2 separate regions of the Homo sapiens genome follow, and region 2 is linked to region 1. Evidence: promoter capture Hi-C in human tissues and cell types (Jung and others, 2019). All regions are on one chromosome and are shown on one strand. The core of a region is centred on a gene start or on the middle of the fragment in contact, and the rest is flanking DNA. Distances in the headings are between cores, read along the strand shown. Region 1 holds the start of EVI2A (ecotropic viral integration site 2A). Region 2 overlaps RNF135 (ring finger protein 135).

Evidence for each region. The method cuts DNA at HindIII sites, captures the fragments that hold promoters and counts their contacts. A contact is called where the count stands out against the background at its distance.
Region 2: a fragment that was not itself captured here is called in contact with the fragment with the promoter of EVI2A in region 1 in 1 of the 25 tissues and cell types used here (lymphoblastoid cells).

The regions. Positions count from the first base shown.
Region 1 is chr17:31,319,362-31,324,576 of GRCh38, forward strand. EVI2A (ecotropic viral integration site 2A) reads right to left here and starts at 2,261. Exons shown (of 2, transcript NM_014210.4): 1 at 2,134-2,261. The region is part of intron 36 of NF1 (neurofibromin 1); the gene reads left to right. The HindIII fragment of the contact is 10,482 bases long and covers 4-5,215 here.
Region 2 is chr17:30,992,260-30,997,664 of GRCh38, forward strand. It overlaps RNF135 (ring finger protein 135), which reads left to right. Exons shown (of 5, transcript NM_032322.4): 4 at 4,983-5,072. Among named protein-coding and RNA genes, the nearest start is that of RNF135, 24 kb to the left of the region's middle. The HindIII fragment of the contact is 7,055 bases long and covers 1-5,405 here.

The sequences.
Region 1 (5,215 bases), core at 1,011-3,510:
GATTCCTTCTTTAAAAAAAAAAAAAAATTAAGGATCATTCTTACAGAAACTACCCACCCTCTAACCTGTCACCAATCTTTACAGAAGAAATGTGGCCTTGAGCTTCTTGCTTCATGTATGAAATAAATGCAAATTTTTTTGGTGGAAAGAGGGGAAGTTTGGTAGCAACCAAAAGAAACTGAACTTCAAATAGAAATTCAAGGTGTTCTTTTTTTTTCTTGGGTGTTCATCTTGAAGCTTAGAATAAAGCTGGTACTTAGAAATACATTTGTAAGTGTATTTGTGAACGCAATTTTACTGTGGTGGTTGTCTCTTTTCATTTATATTTCCCTGGACTGACTGTGTCTTTCTGAAGGCAAAGGCATACCAGTTTTCTCAACCTAAAAATCTGAAGAAAAAAAAAAAAAAACAGCAAATTTCCTCTGAGTAGACTTAAAAGTTCAACAAAAGTTGCTGGGTTTTCTTTTAAAGCATCATTTATACCTAGCATTTTTTCTGATTTTGACATAATTGTAAAAAAAAATGTGTAATAAAATAGAAATAGAGCATCAGGATCTTGATGATTTGGGATGAAGTGGCAGGTTATAAGCATCTCAACAGATAATTGAAAATGTTGAATTTCCGCTTTGGCCCTGAGCTTGCTGGAAACTAGTACAAAAAGGAGACAAGTTATATTATACATTTTTTAAATCTACCAAATGATTGATTTAAATAGAAATGGCATATCTTAGAATTTAACAGTTCCATGTACTGCTAACCCAGCAGGAAAGATTTATAATCATTATTAAGGTATCTTATAATAATATACCAGTTTGTCTTGAGCTACTTTTGAAAGGAGTATTTTATTGTTAGCATTTATTTGAATGAACTAAAAGCAAAACTATATTGTTCTCCTGAGATTTACTAAATGAAATTGCCTGGTTAAGAACCCTACGTATGCTATAGAAATTCTTCTCAAATGTACTTAGGAGTCCTTTTATTTAAAAAAAAAAAAAAAAGGCAGATTCTTACCTAGCTAGTATAGGTAGGGCCTGAAAGTCTTTGTTTCCAAACCAACTCCTAAGCAACATGGATGCCACTGCTAGTCAGGCTTTTGAACATCAAGGTTTTATAAGAAATGGTTGTTATATGTCATTGGCTGACATTTGTATACTATTAAAATACAGAAATTGAAAATAAGAAATGTGATACGTTGAGTTATGCAAACAAAAGTAGCATGTAATAAACAATGCTAACTGGAGACTATATTTCATATTAATAGTAGGGAGGAAAAACTATTAAATATTCCAGGATTAAGATTACTTTTTAGATTATGACCTTTAGTAGACAATTAAAGGCCCAAGTCACTGGCTTTTGTATAATAGTGTTCAGCTTTAATTTTTAAGTTTAGTGACATAAATCTTTGGATATTTCATGATTCTTCCACAAAAAGAAATACTTGAAATTGGATTAGCAAGTAATTTCCATCTTTTTATACTAGACTGGACTTCTGTATTAGATGCTAGAATGATTTAAAGTAGATTATTCTTTTCACATTAGTTCATTAACAGTGTAGTATACATCATAGTATTGGTACACATTTTAACAGTGCTTACCACGGAACAGATAATAGGCCTGCTGTTGATTGTCTTCAGCCAGATGTACTGCAGTGCCCAAATAAACAAACTGTATGACAAAATGAGACTTTCTCTTGCCCTTACAAATGCCTGAGAATTGAGGACTGTTTTTACTCCAGTTTATGCCTTGGAGGCCAGGTTGTGTTATCAGAAGTTTTCTTATATCTGATCATTTTCAGTAGAATTTATTTTCAGTAGAATTTGTAATGTCCAAGCATTAGTAATGAGAAATTTATTTTTTAACTTTTGAAAAATAACAAAACATTTCCAGTTTACTTGAGGAAACCAAACTTAGATCCTTCGTAATCCTAATTTAAAACTCCATGGCGATGGCAAATTTTTTCATTTCTAACTTAAAATTTATGTAACAGGACAGAAAAAAAAAGTATACATTTTCAGTCACAATTCTAGTTTGTTAGTGAGATTCTTACACACTTTGATAGCATTTCCTCGAACACTAATCTGTCAGACGTTAGAAGTGAAAAGGCATAAGAAAAGCCGTATATATATGACCTACCTTACAAAATGCTTGGTCAAAATCTGATTATAACGTGATTTTGATAAACCACTTCTTTTCTTGTCTTCTTTTTAAAGCAGAATAGACTTGGAGAATATGAGCCTTAAAGTAAATCTGCAGTAAAAAAGGATATGTGCAGCTAGTTTTCCACTTTTAAAACCAAACCACAGATGACACATTTCCTTTCCACTGCAACTAAAGCACATGTCACAGGAGGGAAAAAAAAAAAAACAACGAAAAAGCTCCAACTTCTCTAGTTGGCCACTGGCATGACAGGAGGCTTTGTAGAACCAATCCCCGCCTCCAGAGCAGGGAGGGTTTTCCACTTAATGCCTTTTGACAGTATGCTCATTCTATAGGCCTGCTACATGCTTTAGTGTCATTCAAAAGAGGTTTTGAAATGGTATCTTCCATTTCAAATCTTCTCTAAAAGACTTATTTGAAATCTACAGACTGATTTGAAAATGTGAGTTTGGAGTCCATGGGATACTGATCAGATAATGTAACAATTGTGGAACTGCAGCAATTATTTGAGAAAATATCTAGTAAACTTAGATTATATGGGACAGAAAATGCTTTCGTGTGGTGTAGTGTGTGTATACACACACACACACACACACACACACACACACACAACTGTCAAACATCCTGTCATCACCTCAAGTTTAACATGACTGAAACAGACTTTAAGAACTAGGTATGGGCTGAACACGGTGGCTCACACCTGTAATCCCAGCACGTTGGGAGGGTTGACGCAGGCAGATCACTTGAGGCCAGGAGTTCAAGACCAGCCTGGCCAACATAGAGAAAACCTGTCTCTACTAAAAATATAAAAATTAACCAGGCAGGGTAGCATGCACCTGTAGTCCCACCTACTTGGGAGGCTGAGACAGGAGAATAGCTTGAACCCGGGACGTGGAGGCTGCAGAGATCATGAGATCTTGGCTGCATGAGCTAAGATCATGCCACTGCACTCCAGCCAGGAAGACAGAGTAAGACTCTGTCTCAAAAAAAAAAAAAAAAAAAAAAAAAAAAAAAAAAAGAACTGGATATGGCAGCACATATCTGTAATCCCAGCTACTAGGTAGGTTGAGGTAGGAGGATCACTGGTGGAGCCCAGGAGTTCAAATCCAGCCTGGGTAACATAGCAAGACTCCATCTCTTAAAAATTAATTAAATTAATGAAATAAAAAGAACTTTATTTTTTCTTTAAAGGAGGCTGCCTGTGACAGTCTTCTTGTTTCTGTTCATGATAGCAACATTCTAATATCAGAGGCTTAGTATACAACACATCATTTTAATTTAAGTCCTCTCAGTCCTGATCAGACTTTGAATCATGTTGGTCCTTCCTTCATATTGTTGGATCAGTTTCTTTTTCCCTGTTTTTACTGTCAACAGTACTATTTTAGATCCTTATCAGGTCATACCTAGACTCTACAGTGCCTTTTCGGTAGCCCTGAATCCTTCTTATATCTTGTATACATCACTGTCTTTGGTCATACCACCCTTTCTTTAAGGGAAAATAAAACCGGTTGAACAGTTCCCTAATACATACAACAATGATTCAGAAATGTTTGTGTACATAAACATCAGATGAGAAGATTGTTTAAAAATTATAAAAGCAGGACATGGTGGCTCACACCTGTAATCTCAGCACTTTGGGAGGCTGAGGCGGGAGGATTACTTGAGCCACAGAAATTCGAGACCAGCCTGGGCAGCATGGCAAAATCCTGTCTCTACAAAAAATACAAAAAAACAAAAACAAAAAACTAGCCGGGCATGGTGGCGCTTATCTGTAGTCCCAGCTACTCAGGAGGCTGAGGTGGGAGGATCACCTGAGCCTGGGGAGGTCAAGGCTACAGTGAGCTGTGACCGTGCCACTGCAGTCCAGCCTGAGTTAAGGGAAAAAAAAAAAAGATAAAAATTTCCAGGCCCCACTACATAGATCCATATTTAGTAGGTCCAGGTTGGGACCAGGAAACTGCATTTTTATCAAGCACCACAGTTGATTCTGACGCCAGTAGTCCACAGAACATATGCTGAGAAATGGTGAGCCCCTAGTAGAAAACCTAAGCCCTTTGGTTGGGCAGTTATGGTCTCTCCACAATTTGACTATTCTGTATTTTCCCAGCTTTATCTCTCAAAACTTCTCTACCTGAATCCTCCATTCTGGCTAGACTAGCTGTCTCTTCAACACATCTAGTTACCTGTTTCTTTTCCTTTTTGCCTTTCTCCATAAGGCCTGCCCAGTCCTCTTGCTGAGTCTGCATTCCTCCTTACCTGATTCAGCCACTGTATCTTCTATGTAGCTTTCACTGACTGCCCAGTTTGTGTTAATCTCTCTCTCTCTCTCCTTTGTCTTAATAACAGTATTTTCTCTGCATTTCCTTTGATAAGTGATTACTTTCTACCTCATATCTTCTATCTTGAAATATTTGTGTTGTTTTAAAATCATTTGACTTGTCATATTTTTATCTTATTTTCTCCCAACAAGATTAAAAATTCTGAGGTGAAGTTTTTTATTGATACATGATAATTTGTACATATTAATGGAGTATGTGTGATTTTTTTGGTTTTTTTTGTTTTTGTTTTTGTTGGAATCTCGCTCTATCGCCCAGGCTGGAGTGCAGTGGCACAATCTCAGCTCACTGCAAACTCCCCTCCCAGGTTCAAGCAATTCTCCTGCCTCAGCCTCCCAAGTAGCTGGGGCTACAGGCACGTGCCACCACGCCCAGCTAATTTTTGTATTTTTAGTAGAGACAGGGTTTCACCCTGTTGGCCAGGCTAGTCTTGACCTCCTGACCTCAGGTGATCTGCCCGTCTTGGCCTCCCAAAGTGCTGGGATTGCAGGCGTGAGCCACCATGCCCTGCCTGTATGTGTGATATTTTGATACATGCATATAATGTGTAATGATTAAATCAGGGTGATTAGGATATCCATTGCCTCAAAGAAAAGAAATTGTTTCGTCTAGCTGTTTTGAAATATACAATGTTATTATTAACTAGTCACCTTACTATGAATAGTAGAACTTGTTCCTTCTATCTAATTCTAACAATACATATATTATTTATTTTATTATTA
Region 2 (5,405 bases), core at 1,381-3,880, 330 kb before region 1:
ATCTCACTGTTTTGCCCAGGCTGGTCTCAAACTCTTAGGCTCAAGCAATCCTTCTGTCTCTGCCTGCCAAATTGCTGGGATTACAGGTGTGAACCACCATGTCTGGCCTCAATTTTTTTTTTTTTTTTTAGAGACAATAGACAGAGTCTTGTTCTGTTGCCTAGACTGGTTGACTAGAGTGCTGTGGCAATTCCTGGTCTCTAAATGTTTCTTTTTTATTTTTTGAGACAAGGTCTTACTTTGTTTCCCAGGGTGGAGTGCAGTGGTGCGATCATGGCTCACCCCAGCCTTGACCTCCCAGGCTCAAGTGATCCTCCCTCCTTAGCCTCCTGAGTAGCTGGGACTGCAGGTGCGTGTCACCGCACCTGGCTAATTCTTGTATTTTTGGGTAGAGACAGAGTTTTGCTATGTTTCCTAGGCTGGCCTGGAACTCCTGGGCTCCAGCAATTAGTTCACCTTAGCTGCTTGAGTAGGTGGGACTGCAAGGTGGCGCTACCACACTCAGTTAATTTTTTGTTTATTTTTTTTGTGGAGAAGAGGTCTTGCTTCTATTTTCATGTAGTAAATTTTGTTCATTTTTTCTTTTATGCATTGTAGATTTTAAGTTTTAGTTAGAAAACTCAACCCCCTGAAGTTTAGAAAGGAATTTTCTCAGGTATATGTGTGTGTTTGTACTTACACAGTTTACATTTAAATCTTTGGTTTCATGTTTTACATTTAAATCTTTGACTCACTTCAAGTATATCTCAGCATGTATCCTAGTGCATTTTGTTTTATTTGTTTATTATTATTATTATTATTATTATTATTATTAATTTTGAGACAGAGTCTCACTCTGTTGCCCAGGCTGGAGTGCAGTGGCGCGATCTCGGCTCACCACAACCTCCGCCTCCCGGGTTCAAGCAATTCTCCTGCCTCAGCCTCCTGAGTAGCTGGGATTATAGGCTCCCGACACCACATCTGGATACTTTTTGTATTTTTAGTAGAGATGGGGTTTCGCCATGTTGGCCGGGCTGGTCTTGAACTCCTGACCTCAGGTGATCTGCCTGCCTTTGCCTGCCTTGGCATCCCAAAGTGCTGGGATTACAGGCATGAGCCACAGCACTTGGCCTTATTTATTTTTTAAATAGAGACAGGGATGTCACTTTATTGCCCAGGCTGGTGTTGATCTCCTAGCTTCCAGCAATCCTTGTGCTTTGGCTCCCAAAGTGCTGGGATTACAGGCATGAGCCACCATACCGAGCCCCTAGTGAATTTTAAGTAAGATTTGTGTAGTGCCACTTTAGAGACATATCTCATAGCATTTTCATGTTTAATGATATTGCTCTGCTTAAAATGTTGCTCTTAACTGGAGAACCATGATTCTTTGGAAAAAATTTCCATGGTTAAGTGTAGATTATTTCTCTCATCAATAGAGATAAAAAAAGTATTAGGGAGTGTTAATTTAAAAAAAAAAAGTAAATAACTTCAGTAGGTTTTGCAAATGCTTTTTAAAAAATTTTTTTCCTTTCTTTTTCTTTTGTTTATAATCTGCATTCTGCTGAATTAATTAATTAATTAATTTTTTTATTTTGACACAGGTTCTCTGTTGCCCAGGCTGGAGTGCAGTGGCACAATCACTGCAGCCTCGATCTCTCAGGCTCAGGTGATCTTCCTTCCTAAGACTCCCAAGTAGCTGGGACTACAGGCATGTGCCACCACACTCAGCTAATTTTTTGTACTTTTTGTAGAGATGAGGTTTTGCCATGTTGCCCAGGCTGGTCTCCCACTCTTGGGCTCAAGCGATCCTCCTGCCTCAACCTCCCAAAGTTGTTGGATTACAGGCGTGAGCCACGGTGCCCAGCCAAACATTTTTTAAAAACCTATTAACAATAAGTAATAATCGTATCAGCAAAATAGGAGAACAGTGATATTCATCTGAATTTTGTGTTTTTCTAAATTGTAGTGAAAATACATACAACATAAAATTTACTATCTTAACTATTTTTAAGTAGGCAGCTCAGGCAGGTGCAGTGGCTCATGCCTGTAATCCCAGCACTTTGGGAGGTTGAGGTGGGCAGATCAGTTGAGTCCAGGAGTTCAAGAGCAGCCTGGGTAACATAGTGAGACCCACTTCTCTACCAAAAATACAAAAACTAGCCTGCTATGGTGGCACACACCTGTAGTCCCAGTCCCAGCTACTTGGGAGGCTGAGGTGGGAGGATCACTTGAGCCTGGGAAGCAGAAGTTGCAGTGAGCCGAAATCAGGCCACTGCACTCCAGCCTCGGCAACAACAACAAAAAAAGTAGCAGCTCAGAGCTCAGTACTGTTAAGTATGTTTACATTATCATATAACCAATCTCCAGATCATTTTCTTTTTTGTAACTTTATTTTATTTTATTTTTTTTTTTGAGACAGAGTTTCACTCTTGTTGCCCAGGCTGGAGTGCAATGGCATGATCTCGGCTCACTGCGACCTCTGGCTCCTGGGTTCAAGCGATTCTCCTGCCTCAGCCTCCCAAGTAGCTGGCATTACAAGCATCCACCACCACACCTGGCTAATTTTTTTTATATTTTTAGTAGAGACGAGGGTTTCACCATGTTGGCCAGGCTGGTCTCAAACTCCTGGCCTCAGGTGATCCACCCGTCTCGGCCTCCCAAAGTGCTGGGATTACAGGTGTGAGCCACCACGCCTGGACTGTAACTTTAATTTTAATTTTTTAGGATCAGGTCTTACTTTGTTGCCCAGGCTAGAGTACTGTGGCACAACTATGGCTCACTGTAACCTCAATCCTCCTGCTTCAGCCTCCCCAGTAGCCAGGACTATAGGCCCACACCACCATGCTCAGCTATTTAAAGAATTGTTTTGGCCGGGACAGTGGCTTACGCCTGTAATCATAGCACTTTGGGAGGCCGAGGCGGGTGGATCACTAGGTCAGGAGATCGAGATCATCCTGGCTAACACGGTGAAACCCCGTCTCTACTAAAAATACAAAAAAATTAGCTGGGTGTGGTGGTGGGCGCCTGTAGTCCCAGCTACTCAGGAGGCTGAGGCAGGAGAATGGCGTGAACCCGGGAGGTGGAGCTTGCAGTGAGCTGAGATTGCGCCATCGCACTCCAGCCTGGGCGACAGAGCGAGACTCAGTCTCAAAAAAAAAAAAAGAATTGTTTTGTAGAGACAGGGTCTCATTATGTTGCCCAGGCTGGTCTGGAACTCCTCCTGGCCTCAAGTGAGCCTGCTGCCTCAGCCTCCTAACTAGCTGGGACTATAAGCATGGGCCACCATGCCTGGTTTCATGTTGCAGAATTGAAACTCTATACCCATTAAGCAACAATTCCACATTCCTTCAACCCCCTCCTACCTGGCAACCACTATTCCACTTTCTGTTCTATGAATTTGACTATTCTAGATACCTCATGTGAGTGGAATCATACAGTATTAGTGTGTGAGAGGTTTATTTCACTTAGCATAATGTCCTCCAAGCTCACCTATGTTGTAGCATATATCAGAATTTGTTACTTTTTTTTTTTTTGAGACGGAGTCTTGCTCTGTCACCCAGGCTGGAGTGCAGTGGTGCGATCTTGGCTCACCGCAACCTCTGCCTCCCGGGTTCAAGCAATTCTCCCACCTCTGCCTCCCTAGTAGTAGCTGGGATTACAGGCATGTGCTACCACCCCTGACTAGTTTTGTGTGTGTGTGTGTGTGTGTGTATTTTTTAGTAGAGATGGGGTTTCGCCATGTTGGCCAGGCAGGTCTCGAACTCCTGACCTCAGGTGATCCGCCCGCCTCAGCCTCCCAAAGTATTGGGATTACAGGCGTGAGCCACCACGCCCAGGCAGAATTCATTACTTTTTTTTTTTTTTTTTTTTGAGATGGAGTCTCACTCTGTTTCCCAGGCTGGAGTCAGTGGTGCGATCTCGGCTGACTGCAAACTCCGCCTCCCAGGTTCAAGTGATTCTCCTGCCTCAGCTTCCCAAGTAGCTGGGATTACAGCCATGTGTCACCACACGCAGCTAATTTTTGTATTTTTAGTAGAGATGGGGTTTCACCATATTGGCCAGGCTGGTCTTGAACTCCTGACCTTGTGATCTGCCTGTCTTGGCCTCCCAAAGTGCTGGGATTACAGGTGTGAACCACTGCGCCCAGGCAGTATTCGTTACTTTTTAAGGCTAAATAATATTCCATTGTATGTATATATCACATTTCTTTATCCATTTTTCTGTCTCTGGACACAGGGATTGCTTCAGTTCCGAGTTGAATTTTGAGACTGGCCTCTTTACAGGCAGCTCTCTTGCTCTCATGACCTAAGTTACCACAGGCACACCCTAGACAAGGTCTTTCATCTCTTCTCAGGTGGAGTCTTAGATTCACTGCAGCTGCTGTCACTTCAAGATACAAGTAGGACAAGATTTTGCCTTCAAAGTCTGCACTCTAGGACTTCCCTTACTTATCATCTGCCTGACGTGGTCATTGCACTCTAGCACACATGACTGCTTTAAGTTAATAATTAAACTTTAGCACATCGAGAGGGAATTAGGAGGTGTCAGCAATGGTGATGAATCTCACCCCAACTCATGTTACCCAGTTTATGTAACAACAGTTTAAAACATTGACTTGGGGGTCCTGGATATTCTAGGTGTTAGGGTGCTGCAATCCCCTGGAACTGTATTAGTTGATTTTATTTCATGAGTGTGCATAAAACACCTTCTATCTATGGGACTGGCATGGGGCTTGGTGCTTAGAACATATAGATGAACAAGATCTTTGCTAGCAAGGAGCTGAGAGCTTAGTGAAGAAAGAGTGAAAAGTCCACAGTGAGAACATGGAGGTGCACATACCTGGGCTGCAGGCACACTGCCTCTGCCTGATCCAGTCCTGACACTGAAAAATGTGTAGATGATAAGAAGACAAGCCAGCCATGTGCCTTGACCATGATGTTTGGAGACCTTCAGTTTGCCTTTTTCTGATGGGACTTTCCTCTGTTAATTTTTTTGTTACTTAGGAGAACTCCTGGAAGCCCCGTCTTCCTCCTCATGCCCATTGCCTGACCAGAGCCACCCTGCACTCAGGAGAGCTTCTCGGTTTGCTCAGTGTAAGTATGTGGTCCACTTTAAACATGGGTTTGGCTTGCCGCAGAGCGGGCTTCGAGAATATCCTACATCCATCTCCCTACTGCTAGGGCCACTCCTTGGCTTACTGCACATGGATTTGTTCCAGGTCCCTCCACGGGGGGAGCTGATTGCAAAGGCAAAGCAGGTTGAGACTCTAGACCCAAGAGCACTCAGAGTCCCGCCAACCTTTGAGCATCTCTGCTGTGGCCACCAACTACAGCCAACTGCCTGTTCCCAAACCTGCTGAGGTATTTCTGCATCTGTGCTGTGGCCACCAACTATAGCCAACTGCCTCTTCCTAAACCTGCTGAGGT